5 separate regions of the Homo sapiens genome follow, and regions 1, 2, 3 and 4 are each linked to region 5. The links are contacts of gene promoters, found by promoter capture Hi-C in blood cells and fetal thymus (Javierre and others, 2016). All regions are on one chromosome and are shown on one strand. Each heading gives the region's core, a stretch centred on a gene start or on the middle of the fragment in contact. The rest is flanking DNA. Distances are from core to core; before and after follow the strand shown. Region 1 overlaps PEAK1 (pseudopodium enriched atypical kinase 1). Region 2 overlaps HMG20A (high mobility group 20A). Region 3 overlaps HMG20A (high mobility group 20A). Region 4 has its middle 80 kb from the start of HMG20A. Region 5 holds the start of PSTPIP1 (proline-serine-threonine phosphatase interacting protein 1).

Evidence for each region. The method cuts DNA at HindIII sites, captures the fragments that hold promoters and counts their contacts. A CHiCAGO score of 5 or more calls a contact.
Region 1: a fragment that was not itself captured here is called in contact with the fragment with the promoter of PSTPIP1 in region 5 in 1 of 17 cell types (monocytes); the score reaches 5.2 in monocytes.
Region 2: a contact is called between a fragment that was not itself captured here and the fragment with the promoter of PSTPIP1 in region 5, in 7 of 17 cell types (naive CD8 T cells, naive CD4 T cells, naive B cells and 4 more). The highest score is 8.8, in naive CD8 T cells.
Region 3: a fragment that was not itself captured here is called in contact with the fragment with the promoter of PSTPIP1 in region 5 in 7 of 17 cell types (naive CD4 T cells, total CD8 T cells, total CD4 T cells and 4 more); the score reaches 9.9 in naive CD4 T cells.
Region 4: a fragment that was not itself captured here is called in contact with the fragment with the promoter of PSTPIP1 in region 5 in 8 of 17 cell types (monocytes, naive CD4 T cells, total CD4 T cells and 5 more); the score reaches 8.3 in monocytes.

What each region holds. Positions count from the first base shown.
Region 1 is chr15:77,407,742-77,411,448 of GRCh38, reverse strand. All of the region lies in intron 1 of PEAK1 (pseudopodium enriched atypical kinase 1), which reads left to right. Among named protein-coding and RNA genes, the nearest start is that of PEAK1, 11 kb to the left of the region's middle. The HindIII fragment of the contact is 4,304 bases long and covers 1-3,707 here.
Region 2 is chr15:77,476,415-77,480,149 of GRCh38, reverse strand. HMG20A (high mobility group 20A) reads right to left here. Exons shown (of 10, transcript NM_001304504.2): 7 at 2,520-2,595; 8 at 1,640-1,855; 9 at 829-971. The coding sequence ends at 835. Among named protein-coding and RNA genes, the nearest start is that of HMG20A, 57 kb to the right of the region's middle. The HindIII fragment of the contact is 978 bases long and covers 1,391-2,368 here.
Region 3 is chr15:77,456,044-77,459,654 of GRCh38, reverse strand. HMG20A (high mobility group 20A) reads right to left here. Exons shown (of 10, transcript NM_001304504.2): 2 at 1,159-1,251. The coding sequence starts at 1,247. Among named protein-coding and RNA genes, the nearest start is that of HMG20A, 37 kb to the right of the region's middle. The HindIII fragment of the contact is 878 bases long and covers 1,110-1,987 here.
Region 4 is chr15:77,498,770-77,502,541 of GRCh38, reverse strand. It overlaps a transcript of HMG20A not described here. Among named protein-coding and RNA genes, the nearest start is that of HMG20A, 80 kb to the right of the region's middle. The HindIII fragment of the contact is 5,925 bases long and covers 1-3,772 here.
Region 5 is chr15:76,993,636-76,997,346 of GRCh38, reverse strand. It overlaps PSTPIP1 (proline-serine-threonine phosphatase interacting protein 1), which reads right to left and starts at 2,221. Exons shown (of 15, transcript NM_003978.5): 1 at 1,738-2,221. The coding sequence starts at 1,773. RefSeq lists a silencer at 2,037-2,226 and an enhancer at 2,467-2,516. The HindIII fragment of the contact is 6,151 bases long and covers 1-3,711 here.

The sequences.
Region 1 (3,707 bases), core at 758-3,257, 410 kb before region 5:
ATGTTAACATTAGTTTCGGAGGTTGTTTCTGTTCTTACTTCCTTTCCATTATTAGGTCTTGGGTTGTTAATTGTGCCTGTAGTCATTGGCTATCAATTAAGCCACTCAGTGAACTGATGAGGAGTGTTTCTGCTGCCCTCGACTTTTTAATTTTTGGCTCTCTGCTACCTTTTCACAATCAATAGGATTTAACTTCAGACTGCATACAATCAAATGTTTCCATTTACAAGCAGGGTTGTAAATCAAGCAGGGTTGGCCTTACCATCTGCCGTGAATTTGCCCCACCTTTTTTTTTTTTTAACTATTTCTTTCACATGTGGTCTTAGACATTCACATTTATCATCTGGTTATTAAAGTCAAACCCAAAATAACAATTTTAGAATTTTAAAAATAATTACAACATGTAGCCTGGTAAACCAAAGTTTTAGTAAAACATTTTAATTTCAACCCCTTTGCATTAAAAATAGGTAGGCTTTCATTGCCAGCTGATAAGAGGTGGTAGTATGGCATGAGGCAGGCAAATAGCACCTATCTAGTAATTATTTAAGTGTCAGTCACTCTTCAGGAACTACAAGAAAAATAACAGGTGTATCTACTTTGTAGGATAGGGGGCAGGTAATTGCAGGATTCCATTCTTATTTCTACCTCCGAATAGTCGACAAAGCTATTATCCAGGTTTATGGACCAGTGTGTTGTATTTATTAGTTGTGAGAAATCTGAGCATATTTATATGCTGAGTGGAAAGAGCCAATGCATTGAGTGCAAAGACTGTATCTTATTAGCACAGTTCCTAACAAGTAGTGGATATTCAAATATTTGTTGAATGAAAGATTTCAATAAGGTACTTTACCCTTATAAAATTTAAGACATGAAGATTTATTTAGCTTGTTCAAGAAAGCTGAAGATATTAAAAATTTTCATTGTTTAAGTCAGAGTTAGTGTAAAACAAAATAAATCTGTAAGGTAACATCCTCATTTTAGGCCAAGCCAAACAAATCATACCACTTTGTAAAAACATGATCACAGACGGGTGCGATGGCTCACACCTGTAATCCCAGCATTTTGGGAGGCCAAGGCAGGCAGATCACCTGAGGTCGAGAGTTCGAGACCAGCCTGACCCACATGGAGAAAGCCCATCTGTACTAAAAATACAAAATTAGCTGGGCGTGGTGGCGCATGCCTGTAATCCCGGGAGGCTGAGGTAGGAGAATCACTTGGGAGGCTGAGGAGCTACTCAGGAGGCTGAGGCAGGAGAATAACTTGAACCTGGGAGGCAGAGGTTCCAGTGAGCCGAGATCATGGTGAGCCAAGATCGTGCCATTGCACTCCAGCCTGGGCAAAAAGAGCGAAACTCTGTCTAAAAAAAAAAAAAACACACACACACACCAAAAAACAAAACAAAACAAAAAAACCACGATTACTGTCTTTCAAGTAGCTCATAACCTGCCCTCCAAGAATAGTCAAGAATTCTAGTTCAGAAGTCACACTGCCTGGATTTGAATTTACCAGCTCAGCCACTTCCTGGCCATGTGACTTTATGTTAGTTTCTTAACTGTGCTTCAGTTTCCTCATTTGTAAAATAAGGATAATACTTGTACTTACTTTATGGGGTTGTGAGGTGAAATTAGAATATATGTCATGCATATATACAAGTGTTCAGTTTTTAACTGTTATTCTAAAAATGCTAAGAGGCTAGTATCTTAAGGTTTTTTATTTTCTCAAAATTGCATATGCTGAGTGTTAAAGGAAAACAAATCCCTCTGTGAACAAGAAAAAACACTGACAGAAAGTATACCACTATACTCATAATGATATGTTGAGACAGTGAGTAATGGGTTTTCTGCTTTTTGCCATCTCCATTTTTTCTTTTATTTGTTGAACAGATTTTTATTAAATGCTTAACTATGCGTCAAACACTGGGCTTTCATGAGCATGTTACTTTCTGAGAGTAAGCAACATTGTGGTTAAGAACATGGATTTGGGACCCAGACTGCCTGGAGCTGAATCTCATCTTTACCACTTGGGAAAATCACTTTCTTTCCTGGTGCCTTAGTTTTCTTATGTGTAAAATGGGGGAAGTGATAGCATCAACCTCAGAGGGTTTTTAATGAGCTCATATTTGAAAAGTACTTAAAATAATGCCTGAAGCATAGTATCATGTGTGTGCTAAATAATATAAAAGATGATAGAAATATTCCATTTAAAAATAAAGATTTTAATTTTCCCAGTACATTTATACTTTCACCCACATTGACAGGAGCACTTTTATTGTTTAAAGTTAGGGTCCCCTCTTAATTTTCAAAGTAGATTCAGTTTTGTTATCGCAAGGGAAGATGCCATGGTACCACTCTTAAATATTTTTGTGTTTGTTTGTTTTTGAGATGGGGTCTCACTCCGTTACTTAGGCTGGAGTGCAGTGGCATGATCATGGCTCACTGCAGACTTGACCTCCCGGGCTCAAACGATCCTCCCACCTAAGCCTCCTGAGTAACTGGGACCACAGGGGCATGCCACCACATCCGGCTAATTTTTAAAATTATTTTTTGGAGACAGTTTCCCTGTGTTGCCCAGGATGATTGCAAACTCCTGGGCTCAGGTGATCCTCCCGCCTCAGCCTCCCAAAGTGCTGTGATTGCAGGCATGAGCCATCACATCCTGCTTCAATTCTTAAATATTTTGGAATAATTAGTTGAATATTTCAAATGCTGAAAAACTGCCTTCTTTCTAGGCGTGCTACAATATTTGTAGATTTTATTTGAGTATGAAGTAGTTTTTTAATTGTGGAGGTTTGTGTGAAAGAAGAGTTAAGGCATTGGAGAAACAGTAGAAAATATCTTCTAATGCCAGTTCTCTACTTCATTTGAAAAACTGTTTCTGCAGCAGTATTCCTAGACTGTTTTTTTTTTTAAATTTTTATTTCATAGGTTTTCAGGGAACAGGTGGTGGTTGGTTACACAGATAAGTTCTTTAGTGGTGATTTCTGAGATTTTTGGTGCACCCATCGCCAAGCAGTGTACGCTGTACCCCATGTGTACCCCTCACCCCCCTCCCACCCTTCCCCCTGTGTCCCCAAAGTCCATTTTATCATTCTTATGCCTATGCATCCTCATAGCTTAGCTCCCACTTAGAAGTGAAAACTTGTAAGTTCTCAGGTTTTCCATTCCTGAGTTACTTCACTTAGAATAATGGTCTCCAATTCCATCCAGGTTGCTGCCACTGCCATTATTTTGTTCTTTTTTATGGCTGAGTAGTATTCCAGGGTGTGTGTGTGTGTGTGTGTGTGTGTGTGTGTGTATGTATATATGTGTATACATGTGTCTATATGTATATATGTGTATATATGTATATATGTGTGTGTATATATGTGTATATATGTATATATGTGTATCTATGCATGTATGTGTATATATGTATATATGTGTGTATATATGTGTATATGTGTACGTGTGTGTATGTGTATATATGTATATGTGTGTATATATGTGTATATATGTGTGTATATGTGTATATATGTGTGTATATATGTATATATGTGTATATATATGTGTATATATATATATATATATCATGCTTTATCTACTCGGGCATTTGAGCTGGCTCCATATTTTTTTGCAATTGCGAATTGTACTGCTATAAACATGCCTGTGCAAATGTCTTGTTCATATGATGACTTCTTTTCCTCTGGGTAGATACTCAGGAGTGGGATT
Region 2 (3,735 bases), core at 630-3,129, 480 kb before region 5:
TGGCTAATTTTTTGTATTTTTTGTAGATACGGGGTTTTGTCATGTTGCCCAGACTGGTCTTGAACCTGGACTCCAGCGATCTGCCTGCCTTGACCTCCCAAACTGCTAGGCTTACAGGTGTGAGCCATTGCACCTGGCTGAAGAGTTTATTTTTTAATCTATCAAAACCAGGGAGTTACCTGTTTGTATGGTGAGTCCACATCAACATTTAACAGACAACAGTCACTGTGTTATTGAGTGGTGAATATAAAAGCTTCCTACTTATGTAGGCTCACATACATACAATGTCTCACTGACTACTTCTAAATTATCATTAGTATTTTCCAGAGAAAAGGAAGATTAAAAATTAAGTTATATTTATTTTGTTCTGAGTGCTGTTTTGGGGATGATTTCTTCTAAGTTTCCCACTCACTTTTCAAAACCTTTTGGGAAACTAATGCCCAAGAATACAGCTAATAAGTGACAAAGCTAGAAATGAGGTCAAGCCACAAAAACCATGCTTTTCCCATTAAACCATTCTGAAGCAAGCATAAGAAAAAACTGTCTTGAGTCTGTTTTCTTTTATTTTTAGAGACAGGATCTCTCTGGACTTGAACTGCTGGGCTCAAGCAATCCTCCCACCTCAGCCTCCCAAGTAGCTGGGACTACAGTGATTCTCTTTTCTAATATTATTTACTACATTTAACAACCATGCAACAGGAATCTTAACCAAGTCTCCAACTTGTTCATCCAATGTAATCCCAGGGTTTTAGTAGTATTGATAAAGTCTGATGACATCTTATTTTTGATGATGTGCTGGCATATAAATATTTATCAGTGAGCACTCACCATTCCCTAACGATCGAGTCTGTTCACAACTTCTCGAACTGTAGCTATGAAGTTTTCATTGTCTTGGGGATTAGCTAAAATAATACTGTGCAGTCTGTTCATATATGAGTCAATGGTGTCCACTGTAGGTGTCTCTCCACTTCCTGAAGTGAGATAAGAAGAAAGTAAGAAAATCCTCCCTATTCAGTTGTACCATAAAACACAATTTCAAAGAAACAGTGATTCTAATGTGGTCTGCTCCACAGACATGCTTTTAATTTTAGAGGAGAGACTTTTAGATCTCAAAGAAATGAAATTAGTCCACATACTCTAAATAAACAGATGGGCTATATAATTGCTGTATAGTATATATGAGCAGCTGCATGTAACAGAAGGTTAGACTCGCTCAGCTTTCTGCTATGACTATCTTCAAAATGAAAGAGTATATAAGAAATACCAGTGTTCATTCTCCCTTCCTTCCCGTTAAAACAAAAACAACTAAAAAGCAAACAAACATACATAAGAAGAAACACTCTCAAGATTTACTACTCAGTTTCCAGTGTTCTGAATAGCAAATTAAGCTTAAAAGAGGGGAAAATAGATATTAAAATATAAATGGACAAAAATTTGAATGACCAGAGAGCCTGAAACATTGGACGATTTTAGCCAATACTGACATTCTATTATATCCAGAGAAGAAAAAATGTAGTTTAATTAATTTTCCTCTGGAGGAGATTTCAATCTCTCCACACCAGTACTAACATAAACAGCACCCCACTCCACACAACACACACACCCCTGTCACTGACAGTTCTCAGGCAGGAGGACTTACCAGGCAAGGGCATGCTGGCAAAGCTGCTGGTCAGCACCTGCCGCAGGGTCTCCAGGTGCTGCTGTAAGACTGTGTTGCGGCTCCGCTCCTGGATCACATCCACCTCCAGCTTCTCCACTGCTGTGCGCATGCTCTCCACGTGCTTTTGCAGGGCTGCATTCCTCTCCTCAAACTCCATGTTGGATTTGCGAAGCTGGCGGAGCTCTGCTTCCCGAGCTGAGGACATACATCCCACAGAACACATGCAGCACTAGAAGGAGTCTCTGAGGAGTCCCAATGACTCTTACAGGGAAGTTCTGCTTAGCTGCCTCTAATTTAGCTACCCCACCTCATCTCCCTATTCTCATTATGGCATTCCAGATAGCAATTTCAGCAATGAAACGCCTGACTCCCCAGAGCTATTTTAATTCTTAAAGCTAGTCACATTCCATACATAAGATTGCAACAAACAGTTTCAATTCCCAGTATTTTTTTGTTTGTTAGTTTTTGCTTTTTAAATTGTACAATCAGAAGCCTGAGGGGTTTTGCAGGGGGATCCTGGGAGACTGGCCAAGCACAGCTGTAGGTACCCATCTTTACCACAATGGGATCAGACTTGCTCTTACTTATTTTATATTTTGGACTCCCATGTAAGTTTTTATTTGTGCAAGGGGTTCCAGGCTAAGAGTTTGAAGACAAGTGAATTTGTGATTTGCATTTATTTCCTTTCATCCAGAGACCAAAGAAGCTTTGACAACAATGCCCTAGCTTTCCTTCACTGGTCTTTGAGTAGTCCTAAGGAGGGATAACACTACCATTGCTTTTGAGCAATGAATTTCTTCTGAGAACTAAGTCCCCTGTCAAAAATCTGAGAAACACAAAAAGAAACTTCAGTAATCACCTTTGCTATGGTTCAAGAATTCCTCTGTAAATATAGGGATGTCAAAAACAGACCGTTCCTTTACCTCTGTTTCTTTCTGTGAATCAAGAGGAACAAAACAGTTAATTCTTAATAGAAGATAAATTAAATAATAGTGCCTGAAGACAATGATCATGTCTTCTTTAAAGAAAGAATAGGGTGAGCAGGAATCAGTCCAGGTGAGTCTGTGAGGGAAATGTATTCATCTTTTCATTGGAATCCAACTTTCACAGAGCTTAAGCAGGTAAAGTATTCACTTCTCTCAGGTATACAACTACTGTGCAATTAGAAACCTTAAAACAAAGTTACGTAAATTTCCCTAATGGAGAATTTGAAGCCATTTCTTAGCCTTGTGTTTTGAATAGTCAACAGTATACAGTTGTGAAAGTGATTGCAGTGGGAATTGAGAAAGAGTAGTTTTTTTTCAGTCACTTTTGTTGGTTATGCATGTAAAATGCTCCCTGAGATAAGATTATGCAATATAAATTTGCAGAGTGGACAATAAGAATTTTAAGCAGAAATGTAACTGCTATGAGCAATAATTATGATATTCCATTGGTACTTCTATTTACTTAAGAGAGGCAGCCTATCTTTGGGGTCTTTTAGATTTTCTTTAGACACAGGAAAAATAAACAAACAAACACATGAGACCGAGAAATCAGAAATAACCAGGCTCTAAAAATTAGAAAGCAAACGATTATGTGAGATACAAAAGAATAACAAAGCCTAAAATTAATTCACCAATAAGCCATTAAAAATAAAAAAGCCTCACAAGATCATTGCAAAATATATTCCACAATGATCTTTAAGAATAAAGTCAATAACTCAAGATGCTTTGGCTGTCGTTTCTAAAATGAATTTGAAGTTGAAAGCATTGTGAATATTAATTTTAAGTGTGTTGGCATAATGTTCAAAATTTTCCATAACAAAGGTGGTAAAATGGCAGGAAGTGAGAAATGAAGAAACTGCTAGTGAAATCTTAAGATCCCAGGACCTTTATAACATGAAAAACATGCAAACATAATACCTAGATTTCATTCCTATAAACAATTGTTTAAAGCTAGACAGAATGTATCTTTCCTACTCTTGTCACCACTAGCTTTTTTTTTTTTTTTTTTTTTTTTTTCTGAGAGGGAGTCCCTCTCTGTTGCCCAGGGTGGAGTACAGTGGCACGATCTCAGCTCACTGCAACCTCTGT
Region 3 (3,611 bases), core at 299-2,798, 460 kb before region 5:
TACTGCTCCCTCTGTCTAGGATAATCTTCCCCAGAAAACTGCATGCCAGTTGCCTTATTTCCTTCAGGTCTTTATTGAAGTCACTTTCTCATTAAACACTTTCTGGCCCATCCTGTCTAAAACTGCATCCCCAAACCCTTCCTATCCCTTTTCTCCACTTTTTTCTTTTTTTAAACTATAGTTCTTATCAACATAGTATATGTTTTGCTTATTTATCCTGTTTATTGTCTGACTCAACAAGTAGAATTTGAACTTTAAAAGGCCTATGATTTTTATCTATTTTGATCAATGCTTTCTATCTAATGCCTGGAACAATGACACATAGCAGATACTCAGAAAGTTTTTACTGAATGAATATAGTAACTAAGCAGCCTTTAGAAAAGTCTTGGAGAACACTTTCATCTGAGTAGTGAGGTCAAAGGCGGATATCAACGAGGTGAGACATAAATGTGAGGGAAGGAAACAGAATTACAAAGTATAGCCTATTTTTTAAACAGCTCTAAAGAATATTAAAATAATTCATCTTAGGGATTAGCTAGCACTTCAGTCTATTAGTGAACACACTTTCTCTTTGCCAAATAACTTCTAAACATCTAGAAAAGATAAAAATTCAAGTGGAACAGAGATTTTCAAGGGAAGAGGTGGACTACTGTTATTAACCCTTTTCTATATCTCTTTAAATATTTGTCAAAAGATCCCACAGAAAGGAGAAGGGGGTGGGATGGGGAAAGGAACAGAAGTCAGCTAAAGTTACTAAGCATCTTGAATAAAGAACCACATTAAAAAATCTGATCTTTGGGAAAAAACTATTTTAATATCTGTGGTAATTTGAACAGAAAAAATGCATTTGTTTTTTAGAGCTAGCTCTGTGGCAGGTATTTCCTTAATGGTGACTATATAATTTTCTTAACTGGAGTCACCAGTGTTTGCTAGATTCCACATATTGTTGTACCAGTTCACAAAAACCAGAGCACTGCAAAAGATAATTGAATGCAGATTACAAAGTGGTTTATGATGGCTGTCACTCTCTTTGCAAAGTGAAACAAGTGCACCGTCTATTCTTATGATATAAAACTGCCTCTTTAGGACCTCTTACTTTGCTAGAAGCTTTGTTTTGAGGCCTATGGAGAAGTCCAGTGTCCTAAAGCAGCTGCTTACCCAGTGGTAGCCAGATCATTACTCTCCTTGGAACCGTCTTCATCTGCAAAAAGGGGCGGTAGGGTGGAGCTAGTCATCAAGTTTTCCATCTCTCTGAAAGGAAAAGAGAATAAAAAAAAATTAATGGCTTAATTACTTCCATTTCAAGTTCCACTAATTTAAGAGCCAGCCTTCTTGAACTTTATCATATAAGCAACAGAATAAAAACTGACCTAAATATTTATTTTCTTGACTTGGACACATCAATTTAAACTGTATGGTAAATGGGCCTTTTAACCTTGGTCTTATCAACTGACCAGACTGAAAACAAGTTAGGTTTTAACAAATGGGATGTGGTTTGGAAAATTCCTTTTTATTTATCCAGAGTATCTTCAAAAGTATTCATTTCCTGTAGAAATTGTTAAGCAGGGTAACTCAGAAGCACTGCCACTCTGAGCAAGCTATTTAAGCTCTTTGAGCTACAATTTCACCATCTTAGACTAAGACAAAATTGCTGACTTAACCCAAAGGGTTATTGTGAGAGATTAAAATGAAAGTGCTCCATAAACAGAGAAAATCTAAGGTAGTAAGTGCATTGAGTATTATATAAAGAAAGATATTGTTATTACAGCATTACCAGTTCTCAGTCCCAGATGAATCATCTATAGATTAAATGATGGCAAACTGAGCCCTCCAAAAGGAAATAATGCAAAGGAAGTAGAGGATGGAAGGCATGCTGATGTGGCTCTCAGTCAAAGAAACCACACTTCCAGGTCAGAAATATGCTCCACACACCATCATAACCAAGAGCAGAAATAGCATGCACCTGGGTACAGGAAACAACTAAGCTTAATTGAAGAAAACAAACAAATCACAAGAACTGAGGTTATCAGACTGAAAGGATAAAAGGACAAAGTGACAAAGAGAATAATTTCATTTGGCATATCACTATGAAAAACGATTTTTGCCTTTCAAGGCTTACCACAAAGGGCATCACCCCATGTAGTTAAAAGCAGCAGTCTTCCCTTCATCATGAAAGGGATATTCAAACAAAACATTCAGCAGTGACCCCAAACATCAGCCACTTACACAGAACTGCAAAGCACTCAAGAAAGAGTGCCTCAATCAATTGGGAGAATTGAGAAGCAAATTATGAGAATTCACTTAGGAGCTTCCTCAGGAGTTATTTCAGGCGCTGCTGCTGCTAAGGAGACCTGGTGAAACAGCAATTAAAAGGAAAGCACAGCGGCAAAGCAGAGCCAGGATCACTCCACTGAGGTGGAAATATGAAGAAAATGCCGATGACACGAGGACCACATTCTCCATGTTCAATGGAGTGATTTATTTCCAAAAGATAACACTGATGTTTTATTCCTTATTCTTACTTATTCTCACTTCTAAGTTTATTATTTAGCAGGCCAAGTTCCATAAACAGCTTGATGGGAAAAACACATCTCTGTACAAATATTACCCATTACAGTAGGTAGAGCATGGAAGGTAGAGAGGAACTTCTCACTCAACCATCATAAGCACTTTATTCTACTGCAGGAATGCTTGCAACCTCTTTTCAGTTCCTTCAAGATAAGGTGTTTACAAGTGGAATAGCTCTAATAAATACCACAAAATTCCATTCCACATGTTTTACTGAATAACCCTGACTCAAGTGTACTTAAGTTTTAATTCACATTATACAATACAAAGGCGAGATTAAAGCCTGGGCTGCTAACATCACCTCACACCAATGTCAATGTTCATTTTACCAAAAGAAAACTGTAATATCTGTTAGATACCATACAGACTAACCATAGTGAGCAAACATTCAAATGGCCAGGTATATACCTTAGGGAACTCACTTGACTGGCTTTTTTTTTTTTTTTTTTTTTGACAGTCTCGCTCTGTTGCCCACGCCTCCCAGGTTCAGGTGATTCTTGTGCTTCAGCCTCCCAAGTTGCTGGGATTACAGGTACGTGCCACCACACCAGCTAATTTTTGTATTTTTAGTACAGACGGGGTATCACCATGTTGGCCAGGTTGGTCTTGAACTCCTAGCCTCAAGTGATCCGCCCACTTCGGCCTCCCAAAGTGTTAGGATTACAGGTGTGAGCCACTACGCCTGGGATTGACTGGCTTCTTTCTAAAAGTATCCCTAGAAGTCAATGGCCTTTCAAGAACCTTGAGATTCAGCATTTAAAGCTCCTGGCATTGCTCCCATGCCTCAAAAGAAGATATATTATCTGGTGAGGGACAAATGAAGTGTCTTTTCATCCACTATGCCAACATGACCCTGTTAGAGTGTTTTCCAGATATCTTTAGTCATTTCTGAAACGTGGGGAGGCAGCTGGATAACATAACCTTAACAACATATAAACAGATCATATAAACAAAGGAAGTTCAGAGAACACACATTTTTTCCTTTTTTATTTTCCCTCTCTTAAGTTTGTTGTATTCAAACCCATATGGTTTCAGATATATTT
Region 4 (3,772 bases), core at 792-3,291, 510 kb before region 5:
TCTAAGGCCTTGGGTGGTAAGTCCACCAACTTTACGTGTTAGCAGAGGGATTTGGAGAAGGACGAGAAACCACTGAATGGAGGAGACAAGGAAGATTCTAGAAGATGCTGGATTGGCAAGGGGTAAAGAGAGGTAGGATTTAGATAGAGAGGAGCAGAGATCAGTGTGTGCCAAACTAGAAGTTTGCAAGGTGTGTTTAGGGAACAAGGGACTGGCTTAGAGCAGGGCTTGGCAAATTTTTTCAGTATAAGGCCAGATAGTAAATATTTTAGGCTTTGTAGGTTATAAGTCTGTTCCAACGACTCAGCTCTGCCTTTGTAGCTAGAAAGCAGAGACAGATAATAAGTAAATAAACCAGCATGGCCGTATTTCATACAACTTTATTTATAGACACTGATATTTGAATTTTATGTAATTTTCATGTGTCACCAAATATTCTTCTTTTGATTTTTTTCAACTACTTAAAAATATAAAAAATTATTCTTTGCCTACAGGCGGTAGAGAAACATATGGGCCAGATTTGGCTCATGGACCATACTTCACCCATTTCTGATCTAGGGGCGAGATGAAAGCTGGGCCTGGAAAGGGATGCTGGGGCCAGATCATGCCAGGCATTGAATACATGGTTAAGGCATCTGGTGTTTCTCCAAGGTTAAGTCAGAGGTAGGAATGCATGATATTCAGATATCCCCAGATTTGCCCCCTCTTCTAAGGCACCTTCCCTCCTAGAGAGTGGCTCCCAACATCCCAAGAAGGGGATCCTTCGTTATGTTGCCTTTTAGTGAACAGAGAAAGACTGAAGGAGGAAGGGTCTGGGGGTACACCTGGGAGTCAATTGTTAGGCTTTCAAGCCCAAAGTACCTAAGGATGATCTAAGTGAGATGTCAAATAGCTGTCACATATCTGAATCTAGAGCTGAGAGCTGAAGATAGTGGTCCTGCTTTAAATGATGGGAATAGACAAGTCTCTTCAGGAAGGAATGTAGAGGGAAGAGAATGCAACCCAGGTCGGAGCTCTGAGGTTCTCTACTTCCAGGGCTCAGATGGAGTCCCAAGAGAGCCTGAGAGGCAAAAGAAAGCAGGAGACTGTGATGGCAGAAGCCGAGGGAGAGGAGTCACTTAAAAGAAGGGAGGAAATCATGCCCAGTGCTGCTGCAACTTTTGGAGGCTGAGGACAAGAGAGTGTTCTGGTAATGAGGAGATCTCTCAAGAAGTTGCCAGGAGCAACTTCAATGGGGTGGTGGGTGTGGAAATCAGAGAGAGTGGAGGTGATGCAAACAAGTCTTCAGAGACATTCTAACCTTTGCAAGACAGATGAAATGAAGCATTAGTCATAGGGAAGGATGCAGGACTGAACTAAACTCAACAGACTTACTACTGAGTGCTTACTTTGTCCCAGGCACAGTGCCAGGTTTGGAGATACAAAGATGAGAAGAGACAGGACTGAATAGCCACACACCAATATGATCAGTATCAGAATAGGCATACGTAACAAGTGGTGCTGGCAAGAGGGATGCTGGAGCCGTGAATTCTGAGTTTGGGGATCAGGAAAAGCATCACAGAATGGGTGCTATCTGATCTGGGCTTGCAGAGCAGGAAGGACAAGGTAAGAAAAGCCTTGCCAAGCAGTAGGAAAGAGGATTTCAAAAAGAAAGTTTAAAAAAGAACAGGGAGGGCCAGGCGCGGTGGCTCATGCCTGTAATCCCAGCACTTTGGGAGGCCAAGGCAGGTGGATCCCCTGAGGTCAGGAGTTCAAGACCAGCCTGGCCAACATGGTGAAACCCTGTCTCTACTAAAAATATAAAAATTAGCCGGTCATGGTGGTAGGCACCTGTAATCCCAGCTACTTGGGAGGCTGAGGCAGGAGAACCGCTTGAACTCGGGAGGCGGAGGTTGCAGTGAGCCAAGATCGTGTCATTGCACTCCAGCCTGGGAGACAAGAGCACAAGAGCTGGACTTTGTCTCAAAAAAAAAAAAAAGAACAGGGAGGGTTTGGGGAACAGCGAGTGGTCTGATGTTGCCTAATGGGTAGTGGTGATAATGGGCCACACAGTAACAGGAGATGCATTTGGAGACATACGCCACCCACTATGGGATAGGCCCTTGCACCCTGCTGAAGAGACTGAAGTTTATAGAAAAGGGGGAATATAAAGAATATAACATTGGTCCACCTGCTCTGTGCCAGGTACCTTAAATACTTTCGAACATGGGTTTTGCAGTACAAAGCAGACCTGAGTTCAAATTCTGGTTCTGCAAGGTGTAATAGCTATGTGGCTTTAGGTCCTTTAACCTAGCTAAGTCTTAGTTTCATCTTAGTTTCATGCTAATAATTCTTATCGTATAGAATTTTTGTAAGGCTTAAAAACAAAAGCAACTACCACAACTATGATCTCATTTAAAATAGAGTGATATGGCTGGGCGCAGTGGCTCACGCTTGTAATCCCAGCACTTTGGGAGGCCGAGGCGGGTGGATCATTTGAGGTCAGGAGTTCAAGACCAGCGTGGCCAACATGGTGAAACCCTGTCTCTACTAAAAATACAAAAATTAGCTGGGCATGGTGGTGTGCCCCTGTAGTCCCAGCTATTAGGGAGGGCTGAGGCAGGAGAATCCCTTGAACCTGGGAGGCGGAGGTTGCAGTGAGCCAGGATCGTGCTGCTGCACTCCAGGCTGGGCGACAGAGTGAGACCCTGTCTCAAAAAAAAAAAAAGAAAAGAAAAAGATATTTGCAAGACTAATCTTGCATTTTAGAAAAGTTGCTTTTGTAGTGGTGTGCAGGACGAACTGGTGGAGGGGAGTTAAGAGGGGGACAAATGAGACTGGCTATACTAAGTCTAGTTAGAAGGCTATTATAGAACTAGTTAATAGCAAAAAAGAGGAAAAACAAAACAATGGGCTATTAGGAGAGCCCCAGGAGAGCTGAAAGCTGAAGACCCCCACAAAGGCCTGTCCTGGAGGTGTTGAGAAGGGCCAGCTGTTAGGGGGATTCCAGGGCTCTGTGTGTGTGTGTGGGGGGGAGCATTCTGTGAATGAGATGTGGAGGGCTGGGAGCAGGGTAAAGAGCTGGGGAGAGGCGTGTAGGATTCCAGGCTCTCCAGCTTCAGAGAGCAGTGGAGTTTTTAACTGAGCTGACAGGTATTAGAGAAAATGTGGGTTTGGGAAGAATACATATTTAATTTTGGACAAATTGAGTTGAGGATTCTGCAGGATGCCAGATGGAGAAGCCCTGAGGGAGCTGGAAAGAGAGATCAGGAACTCCAGCAAGGGCGACTCAGCTCTGAGCTGTTTTATGCAGGAGGGAAGGCCTGGCACTGGAGGAGGAATGCCAAGGTCCAGATGATGTTTGAGCATCCTAAGTGTCGGGATTTTAGATCAGGTGGGAATAACGGAAGGCACAGTTCCCACAGAATGGTAGAATGTATTAGAATAGTATGTGCTTCATTTATTTTCCTGGAGACTTGGAGATTGAGAGCTAGAAGGGGTCATCCAGTCCTATATGAAGTCTTCAGCACCTTCTAGGGCCAGGCCCTGAGAATAAGTAAGTGGGGAGACAAGAAAGTCTTCCCAAGAGTAGAATGCCAGCCAATAAAGGTGGAAGGAATAATGGACTTATAAAAAAATCACAACAGCATGGTGAAGATTCAGACTGATTAGTGGATTTTATAGTCCTATTCAAATCCCCAAGGTTTTAGTGGAGAGATGGAGATCCGAAGGGGTTAAGTGGCTTCCGAGGTGATGCTGAAGTGGCCCAGTTGGGAATAATAGGACGGTGTCT
Region 5 (3,711 bases), core at 972-3,471:
CAGACTCAGTGTGAGAGGTTCCCACTGGCTACTTCTCTCCCCTTCCTGCTCTGGCCTTCCCTAGGGAAACTATATGCCCGCCCCAGGCTCAGGGAGCCAGACACAGAGGAGACAAGGCACTTGGAGGCCAGGAAGCCCAGAGGTGCGACGAGCACAGAGTGTGGGCAGGATGCCGCTCAGGAAGCTCCACAGGGGCTGGCTGCTTGCTTCTGCTGCGGCTGCCATACCCTGCTCCCTTATACGCCACCCCTACCTGTGCCCAGATCCTGCCATGGAGGCTGCTCCTTGCCCAGCTCTGCCCTAGGGAAGGCAGGCCCAGGGGCTCTAGGACTGGACAGAGGTCTCAGTGATAAAATAGTCAAGGGGTCCTGGCCTGCCCTGGGCTACAGAGTGGCCTGGGTTTCCAGGCCCTACCCCTTCCCCCAACTTTGCACACCAAGGCAGGGCAGCTAGGTGGTGACTCACATCCCCCATCCCCCAGGGCTCCAGCTGCCAGCCTGGGCCCTGAGCATCCTGGTGCCTGGTCCTCCGGATGGGCTGAGGCAGCTCTGCCTCCATTGGCTTCTCTGGGCTGGGCCCACCCTGTCTTTGTAGAGATGGGGAAACTGAGGCCCAGAAAGGCACAAGGTGCCCTCCCCACGTGGGGTCCTTTGCCTACTGTACAGTCAGAGCAGAGGAAGCAGAACACTCACACGCTGGCCACAGGCCCCAAGTGGAGCCGGCCGGAAGGGAAGGAAGGCCTGGCTCCATAGCTCTCATCCTCCTGGCTGCAGCCCCAGGAAAAGGCCCGGGGAGGGCAGGGCTGTTGGCTGGGGCTCAGCCGGCTGAGCCGAGGGCCAGAGCGTCCTCTTCGGGGTTGGAGGCAGCACCCCGGGACAGCCACATTCCCCAGCTCCAACCAGAGAGGTCTCAGTTTTTCCCCAGAGCCCTGGGCACAGCCAGAGCTGAGGGGCAGAGGGGTAGTTGAAGGACAGCTGGAAAAGTGCTGAGATGACCAGGGGTCCAAGCTGGGCTGCAGGCTACGTGGCCCGGGCCAAGCCACTTTACCTCTACCACTGGCTGGGCGCCCTTATTTCATGGGGGAAATGACTTGATTTAAGCCCGTGTTGAATTTAAGAAAGTAAGCAAGCCATTGCCCACCTGGCTGCCTCCTTGAAGGACCCCTAAGGTCTGCAAGGGACAAGGGGCTGGGTGAGGGGAACAGAATTACCATTTGGAGTGAGGCAAGGTGCTGGGGGCTTTAGTGCCTTGGATCCCCTTGCTGATCCAATGCTTTAGTTGGTGTGTTGATTTCTATTTTATCACCATTATATAGATGGAGAGACTGAGGCTTGGAGACAGAAATGACTTGCCCAGCCTGTAACAGAGCCAAGACCTGAACTCAAGTTTGTCTGGTCTCTAAATCTGTGACCCCTCCTTTGCTGCCCCACACATCCTCCTCAAGCCCCCACCCATGTGTTACCCTCTTCTGAGGAGCTCCTGCTGTGGGGAGAGGTCTCCCAGAGGAGAAAACACACGGGGCAGCAGAGAGGAGGACGCTCATTCACGGAGTCCACTTGCGTTCCAGTCCAGAAGGGGTGGGGGCCTGGGCCACCTCCATGACAATTAAGACCAAGAATCAACCACTATTTTATGAGAAAGCTCCCCTCTCGGAGCCGCATCCCATCACCTGCATGGAGATTTCAGCCTAGCTCTGCCCCCTCCACTTGTTCAGTGCCCCCAACCATCCTCACTCACCCAAAAGGCATCTTTGAACTGCAGCTGGGGCATCATCCTCAGGCGTCTGCCGCGGCAAAGCTCACTCTCCTGCCACAGGCTGGCCTGATGGAGGGCCAGGCGCCAGCAGCAGCGTCCCAGTCCTGGCAGGGCTGGCCCAGGCCCCCCTTCCCGGCCGGCGCCGTCTGCAACACTCAGAAGGCAGCCACGAGCCAGAGAGGAGCTTCTGAGGGGAGGAAAAAGCTCAACCTGTTTTGTTTGGGGCTAGAATCAGCAGCAAAATGAGGAAGGAGTGGAGCTCAGTGATGGGAGGGCGGGCCCTGGTGTCCAGCCCAGCCCCTCACCGACCCTGCGGTGATGGAGGACACAGTCTGGGACCCAGGGCAGGGAGCAGGGATGCCAGCCCTGGGTGGGAGGCAGTGGCCAGTGGAAGAGGCAGGCTGGAGCTCGGGCCGGGCCAGGCAGGCAGGCAGGCAGGCAGCCCGAGGCCTGCGCAGGAAGGTTTGTGCAACCTCCCCCGGGGCAGGCACAGGGCCCTCGCCCACAGGAAGTGGAGTTGCTGTGCTCCCCTGTGCAGCCCCGCCTGCCACCTGCCATCCTGCTCCTGCCTCTGCTTGCCCCCTCCCGAGGTGCGGGCTCACTTTATTCCAGAGGCCATATGCTAAGGGAGCTTGAGGCCCACTGACAGTGTGGCCAGGAGGGGCCCAGGAACCCCAGGTGTGTCACCCGCCAGCCAGTCCAGCACCCTTCCAGGCTGGGCCCAGAGATGCCAGACTCCCCACCCCGCACTAGCAAGTCATTCTGGAGGGGCTTACCCAGGTCTAGGGCATCTGTCATTCATCAAACCCTGGCTGCTCTGGGACCCAAACCAGGTCCTGCCCTCAAGGAGCCCATAGTCTGGGAGCAGACACAGCTGTGCTCTGGGGGGCTGTGAGCACACAGAGGCAAGGTGAGCAGGCAGCAAGATGAGGGAGAACAGCCTGAGGCCCCGGCACTGCCCCCACCACCACCACCGCCACCACCGCAAGTCTCCAGATTAGACGCTGTTTGGGGCAGAGAACCCCCTTCTGAAGATGGAGGCTTCCGGCTCAGTGAATGGGAATGGATGGAGAGAGAAACAGGATTATCAAGGCACAGAGTGGGGTGTTTGGAAACCCAGTCTGAGGCCCAGTTTTTGTTTAATTTTGACCCCACCTTTCAGGGGCTGAGGGACCTTAATAGACCCCCCAACTCGCTGAGCCTCAGCTTCCTCATCTGCCACACCCAGTCTTTGGAAAGTAGACGGTGTCGAGAATATTTCTGGAATTTCCAGTTTGGTGGGCAGGTGCTGGGGGCACTGTGTGGTACCACCTTAGGAAGAGCCCTGGACTAGAGCCCCAGCCCCAGCCCTGAGACGCCACGCCCTGCCGGCTCAGCAGAAGATGCAGCAGGAAGTCCTGAGCCCAGGGCAGGCTGGCAAAATGGGGTGAGTCAGGGATTGTCCGCAAATCACCACCCTCACTGATGTCTGCCTTACAGCTGACGGGGTGATAAGATGAGAGCTGCTGCAGATGAAATAGTTGAGCTCCCAAGTGCCCATTATGCATGCCCAGGGTTTAGAGAGAGGGGGCACACCCAGGCTCTGAAATAGCCACCCAAGAGGAAACACTTTGGGGAGGATTGCAGAGCAATGGGACTGCCCCCAGAAGGCCCTCACCTCCAGAAACCTTGGATTTGAGCTAATCTTTAATCTGTAAGGCGCCCCAGTCAGGTTTTTTGTTACTTGCAGCTGAAGACAATTAATAGTGTAAAAATCCCCTTGAACTTTGTAGGCCATAGAGTGAGCCAGGCTGCACCTCACCTCCCAATGGCACCACCACCTCTGATAGCACTGGCTCAGCCTCCCTGAGCTCAGTTTCTCCATCCATCAGATGGGATGATGCCTCTAGGTCTGGAGCAGACTAGAGACCCTCTGTTAACAGAAGGCTCCTGCCTGCTTATTGGCAGAAATTTTTA